Regions from separate parts of the Homo sapiens genome. Here region 1 is linked to region 2. The links are contacts of gene promoters, found by promoter capture Hi-C in blood cells and fetal thymus (Javierre and others, 2016). All regions are on one chromosome and are shown on one strand. The core of a region is centred on a gene start or on the middle of the fragment in contact, and the rest is flanking DNA. Distances in the headings are between cores, read along the strand shown. Region 1 has its middle 48 kb from the start of LINC02948. Region 2 holds the start of DUSP4 (dual specificity phosphatase 4).

The links. The method cuts DNA at HindIII sites, captures the fragments that hold promoters and counts their contacts. A CHiCAGO score of 5 or more calls a contact.
Region 1: a contact is called between a fragment that was not itself captured here and the fragment with the promoter of DUSP4 in region 2, in 1 of 17 cell types (endothelial precursors). The highest score is 5.2, in endothelial precursors.

Annotation. Positions count from the first base shown.
Region 1 is chr8:29,606,304-29,613,907 of GRCh38, reverse strand. No RefSeq gene overlaps it. Among named protein-coding and RNA genes, the nearest start is that of LINC02948, 48 kb to the right of the region's middle. The HindIII fragment of the contact is 3,908 bases long and covers 2,429-6,336 here.
Region 2 is chr8:29,349,300-29,355,916 of GRCh38, reverse strand. DUSP4 (dual specificity phosphatase 4) reads left to right here and starts at 5,233. Exons shown (of 4, transcript NM_001394.7): 1 at 5,233-6,071. The coding sequence starts at 5,639. It overlaps LOC124901924 (a long non-coding RNA gene), which reads right to left and starts at 4,943. Exons shown (of 2, transcript XR_007060876.1): 1 at 4,383-4,943. RefSeq lists silencers at 238-536, 4,726-4,865, 5,056-5,375 and enhancers at 4,316-4,425, 4,466-4,535, 5,234-5,733, 6,056-6,205, 5,734-6,235. The HindIII fragment of the contact is 21,736 bases long and covers 1-6,617 here.

The DNA.
Region 1 (7,604 bases), core at 3,133-5,632, 260 kb before region 2:
AGCTAGACACAGAGCGCTGATTGGTGCATTTTTACAGAGCACTGATTGGCGCATTTTACAAACCTCTAGCTAGCCACAAAGTGCTGATTGGTGCGTTTTACAATCCTAACTACAGAGTGCTGATTGGTGCATTTTATAATCCTCTTGTAAGACAGAAAAGTTCTCCAAGTCCCCACTGGACCCTGGAAGTCCAACTGGCTTCACTTCTCAATAGAATAGTGCAAAAAGTTACCTAGCACAGACAGAAGCCAGGCTCAGAAAGAAGTGAGACTTCTGTCTCCATATCACAGATAATATGTGGTAGACAAAAGCTTATGACAACTGGGGCAATGTTAACAAGGACAGCCAGTTAAGCTAATTCCTCTTCCACATGCTGCGTCTCCAGTGGAGTTTGCCAATCCTGGGCAGTTACTGTGGACGTAGATACTTTTCAAATGGAAAGGACAACTCTTAACATGTGAGTAGGAAATGAATAAACAGGGAAACTAATCCATTCCAACAAGGACGATGCAGCTGGCTGTGGCCTTTGGGCCTTTTAAAATCTCTAGATAAATAAAACTAGTTCTAATGTACCAGTTAAGTATTAAAAACAAGCTTTAAAAAAATTCTTATGATTTAGCTAATAGAACAGTGCAATCAAGAACACAGAAGGCTCTGAGCAGCAGTCTCTTCTTTCAAAGATGGCCCCACCATCACCACGACCACCCAATCAGGAAGCAGGGCACATTTCTCTTTGCTCCGCACAGACAGTTCATCTTTTTCTTCTCACGCTACCCACAAATGTTTGCCTGGCTTCAGAATTTTCAAATAATTTTTGATTTTGGTCCACAGGTTCCCTGGTGAAGACTCTAGTCCAATATAAATCACCAGAAGTGCAAGGGAAGTTGGATCTCACTCGTCTGTCCCGTCAGGACTCAGCTTGGGGGTAGTCAAGGCTTCTCCACAGGATGATGTGGGCACTGGGATTCGCTGGGGGCAGTCCGCAGCCTCCGTTCTTCTCTAGCTTGGGAGAGAAGAAAGGCACAGCCATGGCCCTGGCCCTGGCCCTGCATGAGGCAGCCACATGCCTACCCTGGTGGTGACTGTCTACTCTTCTGACAGATTTTCTTTCTCATTCTCTTGATGAGGCAACCCTAAGGTTTTTACTAATAGTGACTCTTACAAATGAGGGGCTTCAAATGTAATCCGGAGGAGAAAAGGTGGTTTAGAGACAGCGTGAGGAGAGCTGTAGGGTACCCCAATGCCAGTCACTGCATTCAGCAAATATCAACATTGATTTAATGCCTGCCCTGTACCTGGTACTATGTCCACAAGTACATGAGTAGGACAAAGTCCCTGTTTTCTAAGAGCTTGAAAGCTACTGGAGAAGACAGGGAGGCAAGCATGTATTTTTAGCATATGATAATGGTTATAATAAAGGATGAACAAAACTTGATAGGGACCCAGAGTAAAGACCTCTTGTCTGTTCTGGATGAAAGGGAGTTTCTGAAGGGGTGACACTTGCCCCCAGAAGGAAAAGATGACCAAGAGATCAACGGGGAGAGGAGATGAGAATGTGGATACAGCAAGGTGTTGGGGGCTTTCCGAGCCCAGGAAACAGCACACAGAAACCAACAGGAAATCAACCTGGCATGCCAACAAGTGTGATCCCTAAATCCTCTCACCTTCAGGTTTTCCTCTAGACAACAGTTCTTCCTCCAAGCTGCCCTCTATGATTATCCCCACCCAACCTCTCAGGGATCCCTTCCTAATCACAGTCCCCCTTTCCTGCCTTTTTGCTGATCTGCATTTTCCACTTAGTGTGAGCTCCATGAAGCGAAATCAATGTTGGTTTTGTTCACAGTTTTAGCTCAAGGCACATTGGATGTAGGAAGTGGTATGTAATAATCTCTCAAGAAATAGTTTCTGTAGGATTAAGTCAAAATTTCTACCAAAATTATATTGCATACATTTTCTGTATATTGCATATTGCGGTGTTTTCTTGTGTACATATGTATATAAGCAGGAAAAAAATCTACAATGTGCTCAAGGAGTTAGTTAATTTTAACTAACATTGTTAGGAGTTAGTAATTGCAAATGAAATTATCCAGCATTTGCAATTCCCGTTATGTGAGATCTAGTTGGAAAAACAGGAGGCCTCGAGACTCAAGGTCTATCTCCGTCACTAAGAAGTTCTGTGACCTCGGATAAGGTACCTCACTTCTCTGGGACTAATTTTCCTTCTCTGCAAAATAAGGGGATTTCAGAATTGTGTTTAACACTTATTCTCATCCTTATCTATGACTCTTATTTCCAGAAGCCTAAAGCAAAACCTGCCTCCAGAATTTAATGCAGCTGAAATTACGTTCAACCACTAACACTCTTGAAATCTTCTCATTGAAACACCTCCTGAAACATAAGCTTTCTTTTTGCCTTTCAAATAAAAGCTTCCTATTGAGCCCGATTCTCTATGAGAACATAGGACTCTGGCTCAAGGAATGACAATGACGTGGCGTGGGTGAGGATGTGGAGAGAACAGAGCTGGTAGAGCTTACTTACTTAATTAGCTGAGAACAGAGGGACGTCTGTGACTGTGTCCTTCTGTTCCCGGGACCTTTAGGAACCACAAAAGTGTGGCACATGCTGAGTTGGAGGATGTAACCTACCAGCAAGCTCTGGACTGAAAGCACATTCTCTTAATTTCACTGTTGTTCAAGGAGTTCAGGTATATTTAAAATAAAACAAACAAAAACAAAACACTTTTATGTAACCACACAGTATCTCCTCCAACTTACTGGGGAAATTGCAGTTGTGTGTTCTAAAACTATAGAAATGACTTCTTTAGCTATAGAGCCTACTGATATTTTAAATTAGAACCAGATTCAACAGATGAAAATTACTAGCTGAATAGAAGGCATTGGCCTTCCAGTGAAACTAAGGTGCCAGCTATATTCACGGTTTTTGAAACTGTGAGATTCAAATGGGTAGTCTCTTGAGTATGGGGATGAAGGTTAGAATCTGTCACCATCACAACTTGAAACTAACAGGCATCCAGGAAAAACTGGGTATTTCCTATCTTCCACTCCCTAAAAAATTACACACCAAAGACAGATGTAAATGTGTTGCTAACGAGGCTAGAGCCTTTTCTAAACATTAGTCAAAGATTTAGAATACCTCTCCAAAAGGAAGACCTTCGTTTAGACAGCAAAATGAAAGATGTTATAATCTTGGAAACTGAAGCATATCTGTTTTGACAAGTAGTATCATTATAGAAGTTTTAATAACTTGGCAGGGTGCAGTGGCTCACGCCTGTAATCCCAGCACTTTGGGAGGCCGAAGCGGGCAGATCACGAGGTCAGGAGATCGAGACCATCCTGGCTAACACGGTGAAACCCCGTCTCTACTAAAAATACAAAAAAAAATCGGGCATGGTGGGGGGCGCCTGCAGTCCCAGCTACTTGGGAGGCTGAGGCAGAATGGCGTGAACCCGGGAGGCGGAGCTTGCAGTGAGCCAAGATTGCGCCACTGCACTCCAGCCTGGGCAACAGAGAGAGATTCTGTCTCAAAACAACAAAAACAAAAACAAAAAACAAAACAACAACAATAACAACAAAAACTGGCCAGGAATACTGGAAATGGAGAGAGAAATTATCAGAATGTGTTGGTGTCTCCAGTGCTGATGAGAGCAGAGCATCTGCCCCTTCTGGACTGCATTCCCTCTAGGGAGAATGGATATATCAAGCAATGATAGCTTGAAGGCCTAATTTCTTTATTAAACTCTATACCCACTAGGCAGCTTTCTCACATTGATTTGGCTTCTTAAGTACATTTCCATATGGAAAGAGAATGTGCAAACCTGCCAACAAGAGCCTTTCAGGACCTCCTTTGGAAATCTAGTTTTCACTAAAAATTGATGATTTGCTATTTTTGTTTCTGTAACTGGTTATAGGGAGAAGGCCTGGAAATTATCGCCAGGCCAATGCAAAATTACAATGGTTATCTGGAATGGTATATTTCCAGAGGTTATATATCTTCTAAGCTATATGTCTATGTGTAAATGTGCATTCTTCTAAAACCATAAGCGATTAACTTCTTTTAATCTATAACTAAGGTCTGAGTCCTGAAGACCTTCCTCTGGAGCCTCAGTAAATTTACTTAATCTAAATGGGTCCAGGCGCTGGGGTGATTACCCTTATCTTGTCTCCTGCTAAACCACGGACCTTTGAGGAGTTTCTTGTTTGTGGAGGCCTGGGGAGTTTCTTCGGACCCCCCATAAAACTTGTTTAATCCTAAATGGATCCTGTTAAGAGTTCCTCCATTATTTTGTCATGCTTTAAGGCACAGGAAAGGCCTAGGCAAAACTCTTGATGGGCTTTTGTTATATCCCAGCCTTTGCATGAGGGCACTGGCTTTCAATATTTAACATAACCACACAGTACTGAAACCGTTGTTAGTGAGACCTGGCCTGCCACACCTGAAGAAACTGACAATAGTTTCTGAACCTTGCAGCAATGCCACTAGGAAGCAGGCATCCTGGGAAGCTGACATTGAAGCTGACATTGACATATTTCCTTACTTCAATTTCGAGCTTTCTGTGCCCATGATATGAACTAGTTTTGGCAGGATGCACATCCCAATGTGTTTCCTCTGAAAGATTTTCTAGAACATTATCCAAAGGAATGATTGGAAATAAACAAATATTTATGGATAGGGAAGACAATACACATGATGCCCTTTTGAGTTATAGATTTGGTAACTTGCAATGAGAGGATCAAGCCAAAACAATTACCATGGAAAGCACTCAGTGGATATTTATTGCTCACGCCTGTAATCCCAGCACTTTGGGAGGCCAAGGCGGGCAGGTCACAAGGTCAGGAGATTGAGACCATCCTGGCTAATATGGTGAAACCCCATCTCTACTAAAAATACAAAAAATTGGCCAGGCCTGGTGGCATGCGCCTGCAGTCCCAGCCACTCCAGAGGCTGAGGAGGAAAATCTCTTGAACCCAGGAGGCTGAGGTTGCAGTGAGCCAAGATCGCGCCACTGCACTCCAGCCTGGGTGACAGAGTGAGACTCCATCTCAAAAAAAAAAAAAAAAAAAGAGATATTTATCTATGCAGTGTCTACCATGTGCGAGGTACTGTGAGGGATGTGAAAGGAAAATAAATCTTGAGGCCCCCAAATCACTAAGCTAAAGGGAAAAGCCAAGCTGGGAACTGCTTAGGGCAAACCTACCTCCGGTTTTATTCAAAGCCACCCCTCTGCTCACTGAGATAGAGGCATATCTGATTGCCTTTCTTGGAAAGGCTAATCAGAAACTCAGAAGAATGCAACTGTTTGCATCTCACCTGTGACCTGGAAGCTCACTCTGGCTTTGAGTCTTCCTGCCTTTGCTTCAAGTTGTCCCGTCTTTCCAGACCAAACTCGTGTACTTCTTACATATATTGATTGATGTCTCATGTCTCCCTAAAATGTGTAAAACTAAGCTCTGCCCTGATCTCCTTGGGCACATGTCCTCAGGACTTCCTGTGACTGTGTCACGGGCACATCCTCAACCTTGGCAAAATAAACTCTCTAAATTAACTGAGACCTTTCTCAAATTTTGAGGATTCACAAGGATATGGAGCTGAAACAAACACAGGTTTCCTTCCAGGAACTTTCAGGCTAGAAAAGGAGAGAAGATAATTTGTGTAATAGAAAGCAGACATTGATAAGCACTATAAAAGATAGGATTGAGACCGAGTGTGGTGGCTCATGCCTATAATCCCAGCACTTTGGGAGGCCAAGGCCAGTGGATCATGAGGTCAGGAGTTTGAGACCAGCCTGGCCAACATGGTGAAACCCCATCTCTACTTAAAATACAAAAATTAGCTAGGCATGGTGGTGGGCACCTGTAAACCCAGCTACTTGGGAGGCTCAGGCAGGAGAATCACCTGAACCCGGGAGGCGGAGTTTGCAGTGAGCAGAGATCACACCACTGCCCTCTAGCCTGGGCAACCAAGCAAGACTCTATCTCAAAAAAAAAAAAAAAAAAAGATATAATTGAAATGCTAACAGTTCAGAAAAGAAAATATGATTTATTTTAACAAACATTATGTATCCAGTATGGTTCTAAGCACTTACTATATATTAGCTCACTTAATCCTCCTAACAACCTATGAGATAAGTACTATTATTGTCCTCTTTTTACAGATGGGGAAACTATGGCACAGATACAGTAAGAAACATAGCCAAAGTCCCATGGCTAGGAGGTGGCAGAGCTGGGATGTGAATCGCATTGGTCTGGTTTCAGAATCCTTGCTCTCTGCTACTACCCACTGTCTTGCAACTGGCAGCTGGAGGGACCCAGGGAAGCTTTCAGGAAGGTAGGAATATTTACACAGAACCTCGAAGAGGGTGGGTGGCATTTGGATATGCAGACATGGAAGGAAGTACATTCCGGGCAAAGTAAACAGTGTGAAGGAAGGCAGGGAGTCTAGCATGCTTGGAATTATTGTTTCCTAGTAAGCCAACAATAGTCCTAAAGCCTTAGCACAAGTTCAAGTTCAGAAAGAATAACTTGTCAAAATAAAGAATCTGAATAAAAGGTCAAGCATGAGGGCCAAACAATGGATGAGAATCTAGCCTTTTGAACTTCAATTTCCACAATTTCCATTAATTCTCTCTATCCCAATCTTTAGCTGAGTAATTGACTCAAAAAGAAGGCATGACTTTGATAGGAGCAAACTATATTAGAGCCATTCAAATCATATCCTGACATGGCATGGAGCCAAAGGCAGGGCTAACCATTGCCCCAGAACCTTAGAGTTTGGTATTTCCTGATCTATGGGGAGGGGTAAACAGACCACATTTATTTTTATATATCCTACAGCAGAGGAGAAGGCAATACTAGGCAACCAGGGGTCGTGTTCTCTTTCTTAAGAAAAAGTCAACCCTATTTCAAAAGTAAGGTCTCTTCCAGTGTTACAAGGTCATCTCATGAGGCTTTAAAATCAACTGAATCACAATGGTTGCACTCTTCGTGAGCAACGAGATTACTTACTGAGTATTAGCATTGAGTACTGAGATTGAAGAAACAGTTAAAGGAAAATGCATATTATTACCTTTAACTGAATGCTGGGTTGCTTCATTTCTATCTCCTGAATTGGGATCACAATTAAAAACCAGGAAGACTGAATAACAGGTACGTGATCCCTCAAAAGTGGACTCGGGACAAATGAGTAAGAATGCTAAGCCTCTGGACCCAGACTGTTCCCTTCCAGGGCAATGTGTGTATGGTTTTAGCTGCTTCTTCTTTCTTTTTTTATTTTTTATTTTTCTTGAGATGGAGTCTCTCTCTGTCACCCAGACTGGAGTGCAGTGGCACGATCTCGGCTCACCACAACCTCCGCCTCCCGGGTTCCAGCAATCCTTCTGCCAGAGCCTCCCAAGTAGCTGGAACTATAGGTGCATACGACCACGCCCGGCTAATTTTTGTATTTTTAATACAGACGTGGTTTTGCCATGTTGGCCAGGCTGGTCTCGAACTTCTGACCTCAAGTGATCCACCCTCCTCCGCCTCCCAAAGTGCTGGGATTACAGGTGTGAGCCACTGCGCCCTGCCTGCTGTAGCTTCCTTTGACGC
Region 2 (6,617 bases), core at 3,984-6,483:
ATGACACTTTGTTAGATCCTGCTTTCTGGCAATGTACAGTGGCAATCACACCCTGACTAGACCAATGAGACTGTCAGCTTTTTGAAGGCACAGTGTTTTGGACAAATCTGTCCCCCTACTTCCCGCACCTCTTGCTGAGTCTAGCACGTTTGTTGAATGAATAAGAGAATCTGCACAGCTAGAGTGACCCCAAATAACCTAGTTTTGTTTTGTATTGTTTTGTTTGTTTGTCTTTTGAGATGGAGTCTCGCTGTCTCGCCCTGTCCAGGCAGGAGTGCAGTGGCCCAATCTTGACTCACTGCAACCTCTGCCTCTCCGGGTCAAGGGATTCTTTTGCCTCAGCCTCACGAGTAGCTGGGACTACAGGCACCCACCATCATGCCTGACTAATTTTTGTATTTTTAATGTTGGTCAGGCTGGTCTCCAACTCCTGACCTCAAGTGATCCGCCAGCCTCCCAAAGTGCTGGGGGATTACAGGCATGAGCCACCATCCATGCCCAGCCTCCGAGTTCATTTTTATCCCGTTTGGAGAAGTGTTTCTTTCCAAAATTTGTTTCTGAAATTTTGAAGACGTTTTATCAAAATGCTTGGGACGTTAGCACGTGACTAAACAAATAAATAAAAACTATGAGCTCTGCTGTCCATGAGTTTATATTCTAAAGCAGGGACAAGGAGGAGCTAGAGATCGTCCTTTATCTTATGGCATTATAGTGTGCTTGGCTCTTCAGAGGGCGAGATGGGAAACCTATGAAACTTGGACTCGGAGCTGAGAAGTCTTCTTCTGCTCAGAATCATACAGGGTCGGAAATAGACCAGACCTGAGAAACCATCCTGCCCAAACTCTTCATTTTGCAGGTGAAGAAAGTGAGGCCAAAGGAGACTGTCTTGCCCAAGGCCACCAAGCTAGATGGTGGCATAGCCTAGATTGAATAGTTTTAAAATAAAGCAGTAAATAAAGCAATGCATTAAAACCTTTCTGCAGAGACCCTGGGTTAGAAACTTAATCTTTTATTATTTTTTATTTGTATTTATTTATTTATTTTGAGATGGAGTTTTGCTCTTGTCGCCCAGGCTGGAGTGCAGTGAGGGGATCTCAGCTCACTGCAACCTCTACCTCCCGGGTTCAAGCGATTCTCCTGCCTCAGCCTCCAGTGTAGCTGGGATTATGGGTGCGCGCCCGTCATGCTGGCTAATTTTGTATTTTTAGAAGAGACAGGGTTTCACCATGTTGACCAGGCTGGTCTTAAACTCCTGACCTCAGGTGATCTGCCCACTTCGGTCTTCCAAAGTGCTGGGATTACTAGCGTGAGCCACCTCGCCTGGCCGATACATAGCCTTTTAAATCATTAATAAGTGCTAGAGTATCAAGCATAGAAAACAAAAAAGATCTGTAACAAAGTCAGGACTTAAAAAAAGAAATCCTCAGGCTATGTCTTTGAGAGTTTTTGGTTAGGTTCAGTGTGAACTTTGAAGACTTTCCTTCGCTTTCAGTCCTGACTTGATGGGCAGAGGTACGTAGGGAAGGACAGGCATTTCTCAATTCCATTTCTAAACGTTGCCTAAGAACACGCTGTGTAGACCACAGGCTTCTCTGCTTTCAGGAGCAGGAGAGGGTCTCCCAGTTCTTTTGAGCCTTCCCACTACCAGGGGGCAAGTTCCCTAATTAGTTGATCTAAGAAGCCTAACCAACAAGATCTGTGCAAAATGGATTATTCCTGTTCCAGTTCGACGTAATAGCAAGGCTGCCTCTTTGCTCAAGAAAGGAAAAGCCACAGGACTTTTCTTTCCATCACCACCTTAATTAATTCATTAATGATTTTTCAGGCAAGTTTTATTCAGGCACTTTGGGACAGAGCAGTGAGTCAGAGGTTGGCATCAAAACTAGAATAGAAGCTGTACTTCTCTCTGGGGATTCTACTCCGGGCTTTAGATTCCCCGATCATACAACTTCCTAATTGGAAAGAAATGTTCCTAAACAAGAGCAGGTGTTTTGCTGGAGCCTGACAGTGACTAATAAGGTCGGTCTAAGGACTGACTGATGAAAGAGAAGCTGGATTTACTTGTCACAGCGAATTTTTAAAAGTTCTTTCACCCCGAGGTTTACTGCTGAATATAAATAAAAGACCTCTCCTTGGGCAATCCCATCCCAATTCCTACAAATATGCCTTAGTTAATTAAATTAACTTTGAAATGACATTCCGTGTCTTGCTCCAAATTGCCTTTGTTTTCTCCAAGATCTGCTCATTGACAAGCTGTTTCACAAGGTTCCTGTTTAAAATGGTTATGTTTCGTCCACAGACTGCAGACGAATTGGAGACAGGTTTTATCTATAGCCGGCATGGAGTAGCCCTCGCGTTGTACTCATTTAACTGTGGACCAATGGTTCACAAACATACAATTAAAAAATATATATCTAGGGTGTTTACACAGTATCCCGATAAATACAATATGGTAACTTAAATCTCCTTTGCTGAAATTCACACAACTGAAGGCCAATTCCTGAGTTGGCAATGGGGTGTGGATTTTAAAAATTAGTCTTTTTTAAAAATCAGGCCTTCGCTTTCGCAATTCAAGTGGCTCTCGGCTTAAACACATTAAGTCCCAAGCTGTGACTCCCTTCCAGTGAACAGCCGCGTAGGCGCGGGCACGCACACGTGGACACACACACTCACACGCGCCCTCCCACACCCCTTTCCGTGTGAATCGCCTGCGGGATTTAGGGCTTCTCCACCAGCGATTACTGTCAGGTGCAGAAAGCAAGCCTCTTTGTTCTATGGGCATTTTCCTCCCCCTGGATTTGACTGTTATTTACTGGCCACGTGAGCGCCAGGCGCGGGTCCGGCGGGGAAGGCGACCCCAGAACAGGGTAGACAAAAGCTGGCCCAGAGCGCGACCCGTGCGCCCCAGGGACGTCTCCCCAGCTCCTGCGACACGCGTGAAATTGGCCCGGACCTGCCTCCTGAGAGGCTTTTCCCAGAAATGTCTTGTTAAAGCCTTTGTAAAGGAATCAGTGTTTACTTGCGCCGGGAGAGCTCCGGCCCTGGGTCCTGGCAGGCGGCGGATTTCTGAGCTGCTGGAGAGCAACCCGGGAAAGCAAAATCAGCCTTGGACTGTCGGGGCCCCTGGGGCTCCTTGCTCCTTATCGAAAGCGAGTTATTAGATAGACCCCCACAGTCCCATTCAGCAGAATGGGAAACTGGACTCAGACACCTTTTGCCCTCCCCACAGGGAGGCCACGCCGTGCGGCTTTGACCACTGATCTCCCACCCGGAGTGCCCGACGCCCAGGGTCCTGCCACCGGGCAGCCTCGGTCAGTCCACAGTTGTGGCTCCTTCCAGGGCCTGGACTAGGGTGAGCACAAGCCTTGAGCGCAACATTTAAGAAGGGCGCCGAAAAGTCAGTAATCAAAAGAAATATCTTGATGCAATGCCTCTTTAAAAGAAAAAAAAATGCAAAAAATCCATGATGAATAAAATACTAAATTTTAAAAAGAGAAAGGATCCGTGCAGTGCCATCGTAAGCCATTTTGGAGCCCGGAGCAAAAGGAAATATCACCTTGCCCAAGCGGTGCCCCTACAGCTCATCCGAGTAGGGCCCGGGGGTCGAGGCATTCGGGGCCCAGTGGGGGACGAGGCCAGTCGAAGGTCTCGGAAGTGGAGGCTCCGCCGAGCTCCGGTCGGGGAGTGCAGGGATGGCCCCCGGGACCGGAGGTGAGAGCTCGGGAAAGCCGCTCCGCCCGGAACAAAGGCATGGGGAGAGGGTGAGCTTGGGCGGGAGAGACCCGGCGGGTACCGGTGCCCTCGCTGCCTGGGTCGGGCTTCCACGCGCGCCCCGGAATGGAATACGCTACTCTGCAGCCTCCGAAACTGCGAGCGAGTCCTGTAACTCCCTTGCTCTGTGATTAATTCTCACTAACAAGACTTGGCAAGATGTCGGGCGAATGATTTTTGGCTTCTGCACGGTCCCCACCGCGTGCGTGCACAAACCCCCAGCCAAAAGCCGCCTCTGGGAAATTAAATGCAAAAGAGAAATGGGGATGGGGAGGGCTGCTACGTGACCAGGAAAAAGGGATGCCCAGAAACATGAATCGGACCCAGAGCTGCTGAAGTCCTTTCAAAAGGTCATTCTTTGCGGGTACATTTTCCAGGGTCCAGCTCCGCAACAAATGTGGACCCTGTCATTTCCTGAAAGGATAATTCACAACTATGCAAGATAGGGTGAAGACGTTTCCCAAACCCGAAAACCTTGTTTTTCCCCCGACCAGGGTTAAATAAACATCTTTTAGGAAGCGTGGACAGGAGCGCAGCCTGCTCTCCTCCCTCGGAACACCATTCCGGCAATTAATGCCTCCCTTTGGGTAGTAAAGCAACAAACCCCACACCTCACTCCGATCCTGGGCTTCGGGCGGGAGGACTTTCTCTTTCATCTTCCAAGCAGGGGGTTGCCCACGTTCTTGGGGAAGCTATAAAACTGATTTAATGGCTTTAGATGAAAATCGATCACGCTAATGCATACGCTAACGTCTCAGGAATCGCATATTCAGAAAGGACTGGCCGGGCCGAAAGCGCACGGGGAGTCTGGGGCTAGGAGGTGTCAGGCCCCGCTGGGTGGGCAGCAGCGCTCCGGTCCCCTCTCCACTTGGGTAACCGGGAAAAACCTACGGGGCTGTCACGCGGGGAAGCGCGAAGGTGCCAAGGGATGAAAGCTCAAACCCGAGCCCTGGCCTCCTCAGCCGGCTATTTCCTTTGGCGCCGCCCGCCTAGCGGCGGGGTGCAGCGGCGGCACAGGTGCCGGTGTCGGGCTGGAGGCGCGGCGCAGGCTGGGCCCGCGGGTAGACGGCGAAAGGCGCCGCGCGCTCCATTCACAAAGTCCGGGCGCTGCCCGCCGCTGGCGGCGGGTCGGAGGCCGCCTCCCTCTTCCTCTCGGCCTCGGTTTTATGAATGGGCCTGATGGCGAGCACCCGGCGCCCTGTTTACTCCGCTCTTTGTGACGTCGAGTTCCCGTGACCGGGAGCCAGCGGCCGCGCTCCATTCAAGCTCCGGGGAGGGGGTGGGAGGAGGGGCCCGGAGGGGGCGGGGAGTCAGCGCGGGGGGCGGGGGACAGCGCGGGGGGCGGGGGACGGCGCGGGGCCCGGAATGGAACGGGGCGGGGCCTGGCGGGGTAGTACCTAGCGCCCCCTCCCCCGGGAGCGCGGAGGAGCATTAATAAACCTCTAAGCCGAGGAGAAAACTCTGGCTGGGGCAGTGCGCTGAGCGCCGGAGGAGCGTAGGCAGGGCAGCGCTGGCGCCAGTGGCGACAGGAGCCGCGCGACCGGCAAAAATACACGGGAGGCCGTCGCCGAAAAGAGTCCGCGGTCCTCTCTCGTAAACACACTCTCCTCCACCGGCGCCTCCCCCTCCGCTCTGCGCGCCGCCCGGCTGGGCGCCCGAGGCCGCTCCGACTGCTATGTGACCGCGAGGCTGCGGGAGGAAGGGGACAGGGAAGAAGAGGCTCTCCCGCGGGAGCCCTTGAGGACCAAGTTTGCGGCCACTTCTGCAGGCGTCCCTTCTTAGCTCTCGCCCGCCCCTTTCTGCAGCCTAGGCGGCCCGGGTTCTCTTCTCTTCCTCGCGCGCCCAGCCGCCTCGGTTCCCGGCGACCATGGTGACGATGGAGGAGCTGCGGGAGATGGACTGCAGTGTGCTCAAAAGGCTGATGAACCGGGACGAGAATGGCGGCGGCGCGGGCGGCAGCGGCAGCCACGGCACCCTGGGGCTGCCGAGCGGCGGCAAGTGCCTGCTGCTGGACTGCAGACCGTTCCTGGCGCACAGCGCGGGCTACATCCTAGGTTCGGTCAACGTGCGCTGTAACACCATCGTGCGGCGGCGGGCTAAGGGCTCCGTGAGCCTGGAGCAGATCCTGCCCGCCGAGGAGGAGGTACGCGCCCGCTTGCGCTCCGGCCTCTACTCGGCGGTCATCGTCTACGACGAGCGCAGCCCGCGCGCCGAGAGCCTCCGCGAGGACAGCACCGTGTCGCTGGTGGTGCAGGCGCTGCGCCGCAACGCCGAGCGCACCGACATCTGCCTGCTCAAAGGTAAACGAGGGCTCCGGGCGCTAGCTGGAGTCGGGGAGATGGAGGGGGTCTTGGCGGCCTGCGCCTTATTGGCACGGGAAGGAGTCCCCGGCGTGATTCGTGGTTGCGGGGATCCCCGCGCGCCCCTTTGTGTGTGTTGGTGTGTAGGGGTTTGCAAGGTTTCTGTGCAAGTGCGAGGTTCAAGTCCTCAGGGAAAGTGCGGACGGGTTTCTCCGGTCACCTGCAATTCCGCACCGTCCTAGCGAGGCCCCGTTTATTGACATTAACGGTCCTAGCCTCGAGGATGAAGCGACTCCTCTGCGCGGTCCATCTTGAGTCCCGGGAACAGTTTCCAAGTACCACGGGGCGCGTGGGGACAAGATAGGCCTGTTGGTTTGGCGTGCTGGGGCCCTACACTGAGCCGGACCGGGAGAATCCCAGAGGTGGAGAAAAGGTGAAGAGGGGTGGGCGCCGAGGTACAATTGGCCTTGCCAGTTTCACTGAAAACAAGACCCTGGCAAATGCAGAAAGGGAGATTGGGTTGCACACACTGTGTAGAGCGATCTG